2 separate regions of the Homo sapiens genome follow, and region 2 is linked to region 1. Evidence: promoter capture Hi-C in human tissues and cell types (Jung and others, 2019). All regions are on one chromosome and are shown on one strand. Each heading gives the region's core, a stretch centred on a gene start or on the middle of the fragment in contact. The rest is flanking DNA. Distances are from core to core; before and after follow the strand shown.

What was found. The method cuts DNA at HindIII sites, captures the fragments that hold promoters and counts their contacts. A contact is called where the count stands out against the background at its distance.
Region 2: the fragment with the promoter of ZNF195 here is called in contact with the fragment with the promoter of CDKN1C in region 1 in 1 of the 25 tissues and cell types used here (IMR-90 fibroblasts).

What each region holds. Positions count from the first base shown.
Region 1 is chr11:2,884,313-2,892,187 of GRCh38, reverse strand. It overlaps CDKN1C (cyclin dependent kinase inhibitor 1C), which reads left to right and starts at 6,413. Exons shown (of 4, transcript NM_001122630.2): 1 at 6,413-6,554; 2 at 6,722-7,518. The coding sequence starts at 6,732. SLC67A1-AS (SLC67A1 antisense RNA) reads left to right here. Exons shown (of 3, transcript NR_169305.1): 3 at 3,553-4,844. RefSeq lists enhancers at 1-353, 4,916-5,751, 5,752-6,587, 6,588-7,423. The HindIII fragment of the contact is 9,348 bases long and covers 3,713-7,875 here.
Region 2 is chr11:3,376,452-3,384,326 of GRCh38, reverse strand. ZNF195 (zinc finger protein 195) reads left to right here and starts at 5,181. Exons shown (of 6, transcript NM_001130520.3): 1 at 5,181-5,289. The coding sequence starts at 5,287. It also overlaps the pseudogene TSSC2. RefSeq lists enhancers at 4,934-5,228, 4,917-5,480 and a silencer at 5,406-5,475. The HindIII fragment of the contact is 6,782 bases long and covers 2,229-7,875 here.

The sequences.
Region 1 (7,875 bases), core at 5,164-7,663:
CTGCTTGGCTTCTGGCTGCCCCTGCGGCTGGGGAAGGGGGCACGGGCAACCTCTTGGTTGAGCATCTACTCTGAGCAGCCCTCGCCTGTGGGGTGCAGCCACCTGGGAGTGTGTTAACCTGGGAGGCCGCCAGGGCAAGCCTGCCGTCACCTCCTGGCCTCTGCGCTCGGTCTGGCCAACTGCCCTGGCTTCAAAGCTCAGCCAGGAGGAGGTGGAGAATGGGAGGGAGGAAGGAATGAAGGAAAGAAGGAAGGAGTTAAGTGTTGGGGGCTCCCCTCCTTCTCTGACCCTGGAGGTCAGTGGGGCGGGACCCCAGCCCAGGGCAGGAGGTGGCTTCACTGTCTCTGACTTGCTGGGGGACCCTAGGCCGGTCACTCCACCTCTCTGGGCCTCAGTTTCCTGCACAGGAAAGTAATAGGATTCAGAGAGGTCACGCCATGTAGCAGGCGCTTTTAACTGACATCTGAAATACAGTCTCCCTCAAGGCCTGGGAAGCCCCTTCACCCCCGAGGGCCCAGTAGGGGTGAGGCTTCCTCAGTAACTGCAGGCCCCTCCTCCTGCAGTGGAGGAGGGAGTGGTGGGGTGCATCTGGGGGCCCTCATGCCACCTCTCTGGAGGCATCCCCACTCTCTGGCATTTCAAATAGGCCCTGAGCTTCTCTGAACGCTGTGGCTTGGGTGTGGAAAGCAGGGTGGGAGGGAGTGGCTTGGAGAGGCTTTGAGGCCCTGGCGCCCCCCGTAGGCAGGAGATGCTGGTCACAGGGGTCTCCCCGAGCTCCAGCAGGAAGTCAGGGGGCTTGGTGGGAAGGGAGATCTGCTCACACCAGATTTGTTTTTCCTGCTGTTTCCCTGATAAAGTGAGCCACTGGGCCTGGGACCCCTGTGTCTGTGTCCTGTGGATTGGCAGGGAGAGGAGGAAAGGCCTGGTGGGCTCAGAGCTGGCTGCAGGGGTGTCTGACATAGGTCCCCACATGTCCTTGAGACCCTCCTCGGTACCTGCTTCCTAGCCCGGGAGCCCCCTTCCTAGCCCAGAAAGGCGCCGTGTGAAGCCCACGATGACCAGTGGCCCTCGGTTTCCTGGAACATTCAGTGCCGAAACCAGCAGTCTCAGGCAGGCTGGGACCAGGGGGTCCCTCTCTTCCAGACCCCAAGGGAAGCAGCCCCTGGTCCCGTTCTGGAGCAGGGGTGACTGTTCCCTATTCCCACTGGGCCTCTCCTCAGGGCCTGCCCAGCTCCGCCCATCGGTTCCTGGGGAGTGAGGACCCCTGGCCGGAACCCCCAGCACAAGGCAGTCCCTGTAATCGGAGCTTGTGCCGCATGTGGCCACGTCACCGCAGGGAGGCCGGCACCTGCGGAGGACGTGCCTGGCAGCCGCCCCAAGAACAGCCTGTCCTGGGGGGCGGGGCGAGCCTTGCGCGCGGGGAACTGGTGCGGGGGAGCTCTCCTGGCCCAGCATGGCCCCCCGCCAAGTGTGTGCTGAGCCGCCTGTTGCGGGAGGGGGGGCCTTGGGTTAATCTGTCACTCCCCATGCCCCTGGGGCCTCTGGGCTGGATGACTCCCCACCCCATCTTATGGATGGGAAGGTGGAGGCTCAGTGGGGGCAGGGAGCTCTGGGGCCTTTGGGGGCACAGCCAGTCAAGCTCCTGTCCAGGGCTGGTCTGAGGACCTGCTGCTGGGTGATGTGGTTTGAGGCCAAAGGGGTGGCCTTTCCAGAGTCAGGCATCCCTGGGCAGGGTTGTACCCTGCACAGATGCCCAGCCCTGGCTCTAGGGCTTGGGGTGGGAGATGTCAGGGGAGATTCCCAGGGCCCTTGACTTCTTTCTTTTCCTGCTTTCTTGTGCCCTCACAGAAGTCCTATGGAGGGGCTCAGGCTGGGTGAAAGGCAGGGCCAACCTCAAGTCTCAGTGACCTCAGGCAGGTGGCTTAACCTCTGGGAGCCTGAGTCCCCTCCCTTGCAAAATGGGCACGAACACACCTCCCTCTCAGGGGTCTTGGAAGGATTAAATGAGGCAACGAGCCCAGCCCTGGGTTAGGGCAGGGCCCTGAGCAGGCACAAGATGAAGGCAGCAAGTGTTGTCATTGTTTATAATATCCCTCTGGTCCTCTCCACAGGGCACCACCTGGGGAGCAGCTGGGGAGGCAGCCGGGAAGGGCACAGACACCTCTTGCAGGGTCCCTGGGGTGCTGTGGGAGGGTGGTACTGCTGAGGGCAGGCTCCGGGTACCTGGAGACTCTCTAGTGGGCCCTGGAACAGCACAGATTCAGATGGTGTCCAGCCCTCACCTCCTACCCACCTTGACCCTGTGCCTGCAATCCCCAGCCCTTTGTGATTGATGGGTGATATGGGGCCCATGGCTCAATGGAACATTCTTTGAGGCCTTCGTTTGTTTGAAGACAGATAGCTCAGGGCCTCAGAACCCAGGGAACAGGCCCGAGGCAGGTTTCACCATGGGTCAGAGGGGAAAGAAGAGCTCCCGGCCTGTCCTTGGTCACTCCCTGATAGGGGCCATTGGCCCACTGGCCGGGTGTCCTGTGTCCCAGAATTTGGGTTCCCTGGGGCTCTGGGTAGGGATTGGGCCTAACCTAGGACGGGCATTCCTAGCCCTGTGAAGCCACCTGCGGCACACATTCCTGATGGGGCCATGAACATGCCGACAAGGCAGCTGTACAGCTGCCACACCCGGGAAGGGGAGGCCTCGGGCAGCCGGGGAGGCACTGGAGTGGAGGTCACCCGCCAGAAAGCACATGTGGCCAAGGACATGGCTTCCTGGGCCTACCCTCGTTCTGCTACTCATGGACCAGTGTGTTTGCCTCTGGAAGCCTCTGTCTCCTCGGCTGTAAAGCGGGCCTACGACATTGACCGACCACCCATGAGGTTGTGGTGAGGACTGGCCCATGGGTGGCCCCTGGGAAACAGCTGGCTTAACGATTCCAGCACGAAGATCCACCAGGATTGGGACCTAGGCTTCTCTGGCTTCTGGGTCTTTCCTAGAAGGAACGCACAGCAGTGAGGGCTGCAGGTTAATCCTGCCTTAACTGCTTGGGCAGCAAGTTTTTCTTTTTCTTCTTCTTCTTTCTTCTTCTTCTTCTTCTTTTTTTTTTTTAGAGGGCGTCTTGCTCTGTCGTCCAGGCTAGAGGTAGTGGCACGATCACGGCTCACTATAGCCTCAACCTCCTGGGCTCAAGCAATCCTCCCACCTCAGCCTCCCGAGTAGCTGGGACCACAGACACGTGCCACCACACCCAGCTAATTTAAAAAATATTCGTAGAGATGGGGTTTCTCTATGTTGCCCAGGCTTGTCTGGAACTCCTGGGCTCAAGCGAGCCACCTGCCTTGGTCTCCCAAAGTACTGAGGGTATATAGGTGTGAGCCATGGCTGCAGTAAGGTTTGAATCTTCTCAAGCCTTGGTTTCCTTGTCTGTAAAAGGCCAACTGAAATCTACCTATGCCTTCCCTATGTATTAGGGTATGTAACGCCCCACTGTGATGGACAAGCCTACATTTCTAGTGGGTTAAGATGCAATAAAAGTTTATTCTTTGTGCCCAACACAGGCAATGCGGTGTGCAGAGGGTGCTTGGTGGTTCTCTCCTGATGGCCCCGCAGGGTCTGCAGCCTCCATCTGGCCAGCAGAGGGCGCAGAAGGACTGCCTGGGCAGCTCGGACGTGACCGCCTGGAAGTGGTGTACAGCGTTCCTGACAACGTTCCCGGCCAAAACGGGTCCCGCCGCCCACTTGTGTGCAAGATAACTGGAAAATGTCTTTCTGTGTGCTCCGAGGAGAATGCAAAGGCTGGTGGATGTAGTGCCTTTCCTCTACTGCTCTCTCAGCTGGGGGCAAGAATGACAGGACGTGAACATGCACACAAGGGCCCGGAACTCACGACCCCCGACAGCGGTCTCCCCCGCCCCCCCAACCCCGCGCTTGCAGGATTTAGGGCACTAGCACAGCACAGTCCACCCCTTGGGACTAGCACCCCCTCCGCAGTTCTGCTCTCTGCAGCAACATAGAGTACAAATATTGTTCCTTTTGTTTCTTTTTTCCCTTTGGATACATTTTTAATTACAAAAATAGAGCTTGATTGTTGCACCTAGACAGATGTTTGCTTGCTTCTGGGCCCATTGGGCCTCCTCTCAGAGCCTGGAACTCCCAGCCCCCAGCTCCTGGGGTGCCTTCCTCCAGGTGTGTCCCTGGCTTGGGCTGGGGGGACACAGCCCCGCTCCTGGGACGTGCAGGTTTAAAATGCTATTGGGTACCATCTTTGATCGAATTCAGAGTGACAGACTTAGAGCAGGTCACCTCTCAGCTTCTAACGAGGCCAAGACGGAGGAATCCCCACAGCACTGGGTTTGACTCTGTAATTAAGCTGGTAAAGTGGAAAAATAAAAGTAGGAAACCTAAGTGGAAACCAAACCAGAAAGCCAGGCAGCCCGGGAGTTCTGAGCCCTGCTTCCTTCCAGCTGTGCGGCCTCAGCGGCTGACGCGGTCTCTGCTGCTCTTCTATAACACAGGATGATGGCAGCTACACCCTCTGAGTGGTGTCACCAAGGCCAATGAGTCCTGATGGTTGGAGTGTGGGTATCCGGGGGCCTCTAGGTCACTACCCACTCTAGCCCTTTGCTCCTAGTCTCTGGGGAGGTGGCAGCATAGGGGCATGGAGCAGACTAGACTTTGCCTCTTTCTGCCCCCAGGCCAGTTGATATGAGCCCTGCTTGAGGGGTTCGCAGGGCCTGGGGAGCCTTCTTCAGCTTCTCTTTGTTTTCCTAAGATGAAAATTGTGACATCTGGGCTTGTTGCGGGAAATTTGTAAATTGTGCACAGAGAAGAATATGAAATTGCACATAAATCATGGCTTTTGGTTCCACCATCAAGAGCCAAGAATGGCCCTGGCCCCTCTCCTGGGTTAACGCCCTGTCCCATCCAGTTCACCCCCCTCACTTCAGATCTCGCTTCCCTGAGACCCAGAAGACCCGCCCTGCTCCCCCAGCTGCAGCTGCACACTGCCACAGCATTCCATGGGGGTGGGGGTGTCTTGGGACTCAAAGGCAGGCTGGTTGGGGTTCAGGGGACCGCACCTTCCCTCCCTCCCAGAGGTCTCTCTGCTGGCTCACAGGCTCACCTGAGATAGGGGCTTAGATCTCATGGGCTGCTGGACCCTCCAACAGGTGTCTGACAGTCCCCATCCCGATCTGGGAGGCTCCTGGTTTGAGGAGGGGGCTCCCTGCCTCATGGTAGGTGGGCCAAAAGGGAGGCAGCAGGAAATAATGGTCTCTTTTGGTCTGGCCTGGCTGGGGTGAAGCACCGTGTGTGTGCGTGCGTGTGTGTGTGTGTGTGTGTGTGCGTGCGCGCACGACCGAGGTCTGTACCAGGAAGGGCTGCAGGCGGGGGAGGGGCATGGTCCTTCACAGCCCCTTCCCCTATGACCTCGGGCAGATCTTTCACTTTTACCCAGTACAACAGCTTCCAGCCAGCCTGGACAGGCAGATCCCGGGGCTGGAGTGGTCTGGCCCAAGGCTGAGAAGGGCTGGGACCCCCGACAGTGACATGATGGGCTCAGCCCCTGTTCCATCTACTGGGCAGGGTGGGCCTCCGCAGATAGCGGCTTCAGACTCCAGCTCCAGGGGGCTGGTGGGAGTCTCTCAAGGTGTCCCACACATGGTCCCTCGGGGAAAGAGTGGAGCTGACCCCTGTCCCCCCTCCCGACTCGAGGGCCTTAGGGCCAGCAGGTGTGTGAGGGCTCCAGGCGCGCGGAGCCCTCGAAGGGACACCAGCCCAGCAGCAGCAGGCCGCGCGGGGGCAGCCGAAGACCCCATCCGGCGCAGGCCAGGGCCGAGCTGGCAGCGGCGGGTCCAAGCCTCGTCAGCTGGCGCAGGAGGCCCACGGGCGAGCGCGGGACGGAGCTGGGCGCCGGGGTCCGGACCGGGCCGGGGTCGAGTTGGGCCTGGCCGGACACCGGACCCGCCAGGAGCCGGCCCCTGCCGCGCTGGGCTGAGGCCCCCGCCTGCAGACAAAGGAGCCGGCGGGGGGCGGGAGCCGGGGGGGTGGGGGAGTGTTGCAGGGGGGATGGGGCGAGGGGGCGGGCGTCGCGGTGTCACGTTACCGCCCGCAGCGCCCTTTAACTCCCGCCCCCGCCCCGCTCACCGCCCCCTTCCCCTGCTACAGCGCGCTCGCCCCGCGGCCGCCAATCAGCCGCGCGCCCCGGCCGCGCGCCCCGCCCCGCCCCCGGTGGGTGTGCGCGCGGCCAATGGGCGGTGCGCGGGGGCCGGGCCGCGGCGGGGCGGGGCAGCGGGGCGGCCGCCAATCGCCGTGGTGTTGTTGAAACTGAAAATACTACATTATGCTAATCGCGGCCGGGCCCGCGCGCACGGGGGTGGGGCCCGCGCGTATAAAGGGGGCGCAGGCGGGCTGGGCGTTCCACAGGCCAAGTGCGCTGTGCTCGAGGGGTGCCGGCCAGGCCTGAGCGAGCGAGCTAGCCAGCAGGCATCGAGGGGGCGCGGCTGCCGTCCGGACGAGACAGGCGAACCCGACGCAGAAGAGTCCACCACCGGACAGCCAGGTAGCCGCCGCGTCCCTCGCACACGCAGAGTCGGGCGGCGCGGGGTCTCCCTTGCGCCCGGCCTCCGCCCTCTCCTCCTCTCCTTTCCCCTTCTTCTCGCTGTCCTCTCCTCTCTCGCTGCCCGCGTTTGCGCAGCCCCGGGCCATGTCCGACGCGTCCCTCCGCAGCACATCCACGATGGAGCGTCTTGTCGCCCGTGGGACCTTCCCAGTACTAGTGCGCACCAGCGCCTGCCGCAGCCTCTTCGGGCCGGTGGACCACGAGGAGCTGAGCCGCGAGCTGCAGGCCCGCCTGGCCGAGCTGAACGCCGAGGACCAGAACCGCTGGGATTACGACTTCCAGCAGGACATGCCGCTGCGGGGCCCTGGACGCCTGCAGTGGACCGAAGTGGACAGCGACTCGGTGCCCGCGTTCTACCGCGAGACGGTGCAGGTGGGGCGCTGCCGCCTGCTGCTGGCGCCGCGGCCCGTCGCGGTCGCGGTGGCTGTCAGCCCGCCCCTCGAGCCGGCCGCTGAGTCCCTCGACGGCCTCGAGGAGGCGCCGGAGCAGCTGCCTAGTGTCCCGGTCCCGGCCCCGGCGTCCACCCCGCCCCCAGTCCCGGTCCTGGCTCCAGCCCCGGCCCCGGCTCCGGCTCCGGTCGCGGCTCCGGTCGCGGCTCCGGTCGCGGTCGCGGTCCTGGCCCCGGCCCCGGCCCCGGCTCCGGCTCCGGCTCCGGCCCCGGCTCCAGTCGCGGCCCCGGCCCCAGCCCCGGCCCCGGCCCCGGCCCCGGCCCCCGCCCCGGCCCCGGCCCCGGACGCGGCGCCTCAAGAGAGCGCCGAGCAGGGCGCGAACCAGGGGCAGCGCGGCCAGGAGCCTCTCGCTGACCAGCTGCACTCGGGGATTTCGGGACGTCCCGCGGCCGGCACCGCGGCCGCCAGCGCCAACGGCGCGGCGATCAAGAAGCTGTCCGGGCCTCTGATCTCCGGTGAGCCCCGCACGGCCCCGCCCCGGCCCGGCCCGGCCCCGCTTTGTCCGGCCGGCCGGTCCCCCCAGCCCTCGGGGGCCTCGCTGGGTTCCCGCCTCCTCCCGTGGCATTAAAGGGCCCGCAGCGCTCAGGGCGCGGCTGCGCCCTTACCCCCCTCCCCGCCCCGTTGTTGTGCCCTCCAGCGGCTTCGCGCGGGCGGGGTGGGAGGCTGAATCCCGGCCGCGACCCCCCGGGAGCGCAGTTTTCGCCCCCGGCCGCGGGAGCCCCTCCCCGGGCGCGGCCGGGCGCCGTGAGCACGGCGTGGAGGGGGTTAAGCGCGGCGGCGGCCCCGGGGGGCTTGGCCGCGGGACAAGGGGA
Region 2 (7,875 bases), core at 3,932-6,431, 490 kb before region 1:
CTGCTCCAGGGCACCAGGACCCATCTGTCTGTGCTCACTCACCTTCCTCGGGTGCTCGCATGGGGCTGCCACTGACGACGAACTGCTGCAGCTCCTTGGTGATCTGGCCCTGGTCATGGGACAGGAACTGTAGGGTCAGGACCATAAGGAGCTTCACCACCTGTAGAATGGGAACAGAGGCTCATGATGAGTGGCAACCTATTTGATAATTTAAACAAATCTATTTGTTGAATGAGTGGAGAAACAAGGTGAGGTTTGAGTCCACAGTGGTCAAGAGCATGGGGGCTTCAGAAAAGGGCAGGACCAAGTTCAAATCCCTACACTTCGAATTTCTACTTCATGCCATGCAAAATTACTTTACCCCTCCTAACCTCAATTTCCTTCTGTGTGAAATCAGAACAATCAACTTTCCCTCCTCATTTTCTTTTTTTTTTTTTGGAGGTGGAGTCTCGCTCTGTCACCCAGGCTGGAGTGCAGTAGCGCAATCTCGGCTCACTGCAAGCTCCACCTCCCGGGTTGACGCCATTCTCCTGCCTCAGCCTCCCAAGTAGCTGGGACTACAGGCACCCACCACCACGCCTGGCTAATATTTTTTTGTATTTTTAGTAGAGACGGGGTTTCACCATGTTGGCCAGGATGGTCTCGATCTCCTGACCTCATGATCCCCCCGCCTCGGCCTCCCAAAGTGCTGGGATTACAGGCGTGAGCCACTGCACCCGGCCCCCTCCTCATTCAGTTTCTGTCAAGATTTCATGAGATAATACCTAGAAAACATCTAACCTGTTTACGTGGAAGATCATTTTTGTCATAATTAGTAGTGGGATCAATTTCACTGTTATTGTATATACAGCTCTGTGCCTCAAACCTGCAAAAAAAAAAAAGAAAATGTTAACTCTAAAAAGTGCTAGTGGTTTATAATGCTTATATTATTAATTATAGCCCTATTTAATCGCACAGACCTTGTACATGGCAGGTGCTCAATAAACACTTGCGGAATCAATGAATGTGGGCTCCAGAGCCACACTGTGTAGATTCTGTTCTGCCTCCACCACTTATTAGCTGTGCCATCTGGGCAAGTTCATTCACCTCTTTATGTCTCTGTTTCCTTTTCTGTAAAATATATCTAATACGAATCCCTAGCTTATTAAGTTGTTGCAAGGGGTGAATGATTTGGCATACAGTAGGGTCTTGTTAAACATTAGCTGTGATGAACTCCTTCCAAATCTTCATTTTCAGAGCCACAACGAGGCCACAGTGCCACCTGGAGTGTAAGCACACAAGATCACCAACTATGTTATCTTTCCACCATGGGTCCAAGGCTGGGTAGTGAAGGCCTGGAGGTTTCTCCTGCCTCTATCTTCCCAGTGCCCTCATGGAGACTTTTGTATTTTCCTCTTTACATCCCCACAGATAGGGTCCAGGTTGCCCGACACAGCTGGGCAATCCACAAGGCAGTGACCCCCTGTGCCAGCCCTGTGAGGTAGCTGGAGGATCATTGTTCCTTCCTTCTCAGGCTCTGGGCAGATGCCAGGGCTGGGGTGAACCACGCCCTCAAGTTTCTTGCTTTGGAGAGTCACATTTTCCCTTGGGAAGGAGGGTAAAGGTCAGAGGAGCCAGAGACCTGTGACCTGCTTGTGCCATGAGCCCTAACTATAAGGACCTGAACACTCTATATTAAAAGTCCAAAGCTTGGGGGCTCCACCGAGCTTCTCACCTCACGGCCTCTGCTAGGGAGGATGAATGCTTTGTCCTCCCAGAGCTTTGCGAGCTTGTAGCACACAGCCTCCCCAGCACAACATCTCTTGGAAACCTCAGACTTTGTCTTAAACATTCATGCAAATTTTGCATCTTATTTCCCATTATGTCAGCATGTTTTAGAAAAAACCCTCAACTTTCCTGAATATACAAGAGAATTTGACGTTGTAGAACATTGTGCCTTTTAAAAAAATTGTGTTATTTAAAAATTTTCCCCACCCCCCCTTCTGCCCCCCAAGACTGCCAAATCCTTTTTGAACAAATATTAGGAAATGCTTATTATGTGCCAGATATGATTCATGGTCTTGGGGATATAGCAGAAAACAAATACCTGGGTATGAAATAATCTGTACAACAAACCCCCATGATGTGAGTTTACCAATATAACAAATCTGCACCTGTGTCCCTGAACGTAAAAGTAAAAAAAAAAAAAAAAAAAGCAGTGGTTTGGGGTCTGGCCCACACTCTAATCCCCCGGAGACCTTTAAGCCACAATGTTGCCCAGGCCCCACTCCAGTGATTCTCATTTTACTGGTCGGTGGCAGCTTGGGTTTGGGAAATTCTAAATGCCATCCCCCCAGGTGATTTTACATGTAGCAGGGGTGAGAACAATTGATTCAGGGTAAAGAATGCATTCACTGTAGCTGGTTTCCATGCATACTGATGGGATTTGCCACATAGGAGCTTGAAAAATAGCTCTTCCTTATTAAAAATCAACGGACACCTCCAAGATGTACTTAGCTGTTCGGATAAATTGCTGCAGAAAAAAAGTCTTCTCAGCAGATGTATCTTTAAGTCACTTGATTTCAGAGTAAGAGGTTGTTTCAGTCACAGTACTTATAGTCAGTGTTGAAAATTATGAACAGCCTACAAATACCAAAAAGGAATGAAAGCATTTACAGACATATAGGATACATTCTGTTTTAAAATTGCTCCTCTGTTGTTGGGCTCTGATTTCCTAAAGTCATCTATCAGCCATTTCCCTCAAATTATTCCATGTCCTTCCAAGAAGCTTCTGCAATTTCTCGAGGTGATTGATTATTCCCAATGGTAAACAGCACCATATGGGTCCAAATCTAAAAGGAATTCTGCCTCTATTGCAGAAGAGTTACTCTCCAGAAACTTGCAGGCCTTGGAAAGCTGTATGAGCAGTGCAGTCTATGCAGGAGTAAGGGCTGCAGAGCCAGGCAGAGCTGATCCTGAGTACCAGCCCAGCTGCTTAGCAGCTGTGGGACTTTGGGCAAGGTTCTTGACTTGGAGCAGTAATATAAACCTCTTCTGCAAGAAAGGGTAGAATAATACTGATTGCAGAAACAGCAGCAATGCTTCATTACTCTCTGTATCTATGCTCTTTATTGTGTGCTCTTACAGCTCCTCCCATCAAGAGGCCGAATGTGTTTCCCAAACTTTGCATCTGGCTGGCACTATTTTCTCTGGCTATAGAAAACTGTTGTATTAGTTTGTTTTCACACTGCTGATAAAGACATTCCTGAACATGCGAACAAAAAGAGGTTTAATTGGACTTACAGTTCCACATGGCTGGGGAGGCCTCAGAATCATGACGGGAGGCAAAAGGCACTTCTTTCGTGGTGGCGGCAAGAGAAAAATGAGGAGAAAGCAAAAGTGGAAACCCCTGATAAACCCATCAGATCTCGTGAGACTTATTCACTAACATGAGAATAGCATGAGAAAGACCCGCCCACATGACTCAATTACCCCCTTCCCCGGTCCCTCCCACAACACACGGGAATTCTGGGAGATACAATTCAAGTTGAGATTTGGCTGGGGACACAGCCAGACCGTATCAACTGCGAATATGACAGCTTTTGTGCTAGTTTTGGGCCTAGGCTCAAAAGGTCTTAAATGCTTCTGTGTTTCTCAGAACCTTGCTATCTTTATGAGATCAAGCTATCAGAACCTTGCTATCTTTATGAGATTAGCCAGCTGGAGGATGACATACCATGGTGGGGAGAAGGAAGGTGCCACTGTTGATAGCCATCTCATCCCCAGAAGCAGAGCCACCTAGTCAACCAGCAGCTGGCCATACATACATGAAGCAGTCCAGTTGTGACAAGAATAGCTCAGTTGAGTTCAGCGTGAATGGCTGATGAACTCAATCATGAGCTATTAAGTTTTCGGTGATTTGTTATGCAATAGCTAACTAATACATGCACCCAGGGCAGATAGGGTGCCAGGATTCAATGAAAGGTTGATTCCTAGTTACCTGCAAGAAGAAAGCACTTTATAGGTACTAATTCTCCCCCCTTATTTAAAGTTGGATCTTTTGTAAGATAATGTTCCGTCATACAGAAATGCATGTACACATGTATATATGTGATTGGTGCTTTTACTCACACAGCCCCCCAACCACGGGAAGAAACAGACAATCACAGCTTGATCATTAGGGCTAAGGCCAAATAGCAAGATAAGTCTGCCTCTAGTCTATTTCCTCCATATCTAAATGTTGGAGGTCAAGGCTATGGACAGATCTGAAGATGTGTTCTCTCCTCTTAGGGCCCCATTATTGATGGGCAGCAGTCCTCTACCCGTGGATATTTTCTTTTGCTTTCCCCTATGCTCTCTAGGATCACCATCTCGTCCACCCTTCGACCGGAGGAGAGATGTTTGTAGCAAGAGGCTGTTCCCTCACCTCTGGCTGAAAAGGGACTTTCAGACCCTCCACTTCCTGACATAAGGGAGGTTAGACCTCAGAGCTGCACTTTAGTGTGGCAGCTATTGATCATGTGTGGCTATTGAATAACAGGAATACAGCTGGTCTGAACTGAAATGTGCTGAAAAGGTAAAATACAGAGTGAGCTTCAAAGATTTAGTACCCCAAAATATATACTTCCTTACCAATTGTATATTGACCATAGAGGAAAATGGTTACATACTGGGTTAAATTATTACAATCAACTTCACCTGTTTCTTAGTACATTTTAAAACGTGGCTACTAGAAAATTTAAGATTCACACATGGCTTACATTTTAATTCTTAGAGGCTTGAATCCTTTTTGAAATTTCAGGCTGTCTGTTCAAAGGACCAAAAGCCAGGAAGGCCATAAAATATAAAAATTCAAAATGATTGTCTTTATTTTCTTCTTTCCATTGGTGAATAACATATATTTATTATTTATAAATAAACATAACCGCAGTCACAAGATGAAATGTAAATATCCTCTAGGTGGGGCCGGACAGCGCAGGCAGGAAGCCCCGCTCCAAAAGATCGCGGCCAGCACCTGTCCTTGCTGTCTCATTCGGCCCATTGTCTGATTACAGCTCCTGTCACTCAGGGCCTGAGGGGGCGGGGCGTGATGCCCTATCCAATCAGAGGAGTAGGGGCGGGGACTGTCCAATCAGGCACATGTCTGGAGAGGAGAGGACGGCTTCCGGGATCTAGCGGGGCCTTTGTCCCGACAGAGCTCCACTTCCTGTCCCCGCGGCTCTGTGTCCCCTGCTAGCCGTAGGTCGTGTGACCCGCAGGCACCGGGAGATCCAGAAGTGAAACGCCAGGCTCTCTGGAGGCCAGGAGATGGTGAGTGTAGGGGCCAGGCCTCCTGAGAGACAGGGAGGGGCGGACTGGAACCCGCGGTACCGGCTCGGGAGGAACCGGGCTGCCCGGGTGGGTTCCGGGCTCCGCGGACCCGAGGCCCCTCCAGCTGCACCATGGCGGCCGGGCCCCGCGCGCCCCGGCGCATCCCTGCAGAGCGGCTTTGGCCCAAGCCCAGAGCCATGTCCCCCCGGCAGCTCTTCGCCCGCAGACCCTCGTCTCCCCGAGTCAGGAAGGGAGAATCCCGACTCCGTGGGTGGTTTGTGCATAAGAGGATGATCTGTAGCCCGTGGGGGCCCCAGTCCCTCCTTTCTCTCGAGGGAGTCCTTGCAAAAATGTGAAAGAGTTTTATTTGAGCAAAGAGCGATTCATGAATGGCAGAGGACCCAACCATGTTTTTTGGGTTTGGAGGTCCCACCAGCCGGCCTTGAAGGAAAGGCTTTTATCAGGTGCATGAGGAAGCAAACCACATTCATTCATTAGTTCGGTACAGTTACGTCATCTCCTGATTTCAGCTATCTAGGCTGAAATTTTCTGGTCCTGTAATCAGAAGTTAATTAGAGGTTTGTGGTTGACGAAGCCTGAATTTTGTTTCTGCAAGATAGTCATTTGCAAGAAACGCATCTGAGTTAGATTTTTTTTTTTAACCTAAGAACCCAGGGCACTAGAGCCACCTCAGTCGGATTGCCTGCTATTTAATTATTATTATTTTTGAGATGGAGTCTCGCTCTGTCCCCCAGGCTGGAGTGCAGTGGCGCGATCTCGGCTCACTGCAACCTCTGCCTCCCGGGTTCAATCAATTCTCCTGCCTCAGCCTCCCGAGTAGCTGAGATTACAGTCCTGCACCACCACGCCCGGCTAATTTTTGTATTTTTAGTAGAGACGGGGTTTCACCATGTTGGCCAGGCTGGTCTTGAACTCCTGACCTCATGTGATCCGCCTGCCTTGGCCTCCCAAAGTGCTGGGATTACAGTCGTGAGCCACTGCGCCCAGCCTGGACGGCACTTTTTAAGAGATTTGTTTTCTGTTTGTAATCATTCCACGTGACAGGAAAGCAGAGAATCATCCCCTGACGCTATTGTAAAAAGTCTTTGTGCCTCTCCTCCTTTTTATTTTCCCTAGGCACAGACACCTTACCAGAATGTCTTTGGTTTGAGGTTCCACTTTGGAAACTTGACAGGGTGATTTGCTCTCAGCCACCCTCTGGACTTTTTCCTCAGTTTCAGTATTGTCCAGGGATAACACAGGATGCCCACCATGGCCATGTCTGCTGGAGCATCTAGTGAATTTCAGGCCCTGGGTTATTTCTCAGAGGACAGCCTGAGGTATGAAGTGTGGCCTCTCCAGGGAGCAGCTGGATGCCCTGGGCTGAGAGAAATCTCCTGGTCTACTCTTCCTCTAAAGAGGTAACCACTTAGGACATTAAGATTGTCTTCACCCAACCCAACTTTCAATCCCTGGAGACACATGGCTGATCAGCCAATCACATGCCCCTGTCAGAGGGAAAAGACCGAAATCATTTCTGCCCTTTGGACTCTCAGATTTGTGAAGGGAGACAGAATGTTTCAAAGAGCAAGAAAAACTCCACCCCGTGAGATGGTGCAAAACCTGTAAAGCAAAATTCACCTGGGACACTCAGCGGGGCACAGTGCAGTGTATCATCGGGGGTGGCCGGTGAGCACTTCGGTGAACAGGATGGAGGTGGGAGAATCTCCCAAGGAATAGAATAGCCTGACTTGACACAAGTCATTAGCTGTGTCTGTGTTCCAGTCGGCACTGCCACTCTCTGTGTCTCCTTGAAATAATTTATTCACTTACTGCAATGTTGGATTTTTAATTGTAAATTTACATTTTATCAGTAGAGCTTGAAAGGTAAGAAAATACTTACAAAGGACATGAAATAGGTCAATTTCAGGAAAAAAGTTAAATATCTAGTCATACATACCTTTTTCTTCTCCAGAGTGATTAAGGGTAGAAAGTTACTTAGGTCTGTTCTTTTGTGGAAGATGATTTCCAACAGAATCCCAGGGCTTAGCTTTGGGAATGCTACCAGGGAACATAAAATGCTTCTTGGATGGCTGTGGAGAATGTTTACATTTTCTACAAAAAAATTATGGTAGATTACTTGGTAAATTGCATAGATTCATCAGAACATGAGCTCTTTTTGCAGGATGAATTTGTTGTCATGAGTATCTCTGTTTTATATCCTGTTCTCTAGATGTCTGAGCTTAATGCTAAGTTGTAGGAGATGGAACTTAGCACTTCTAAAAGTGTTCACATGTGATTGTTTACTATATGATTTGTTATGGAAATAGTTAAATGACAAGTTCATTGTCTGAAAGCAATAAATAATTTTGCTTTTTCTGTGGAGGTGAAAGTGTAAGTGCTTACAGTTTCCTTTTCTTCTGTAAACTGTTTCAGTGATTTTGTTGGATGTTTCCAACACTGGGTATTTTCTTATTTAAACCTAAGTGGATAACCCTGATTGGGAAGTTGAAGCCCAAGAACAGTCATTCCAAGCTAAGGCTAATACTGAGTCTGCAAAAGAAAGCAATCGAAGGCCTGGCTCAA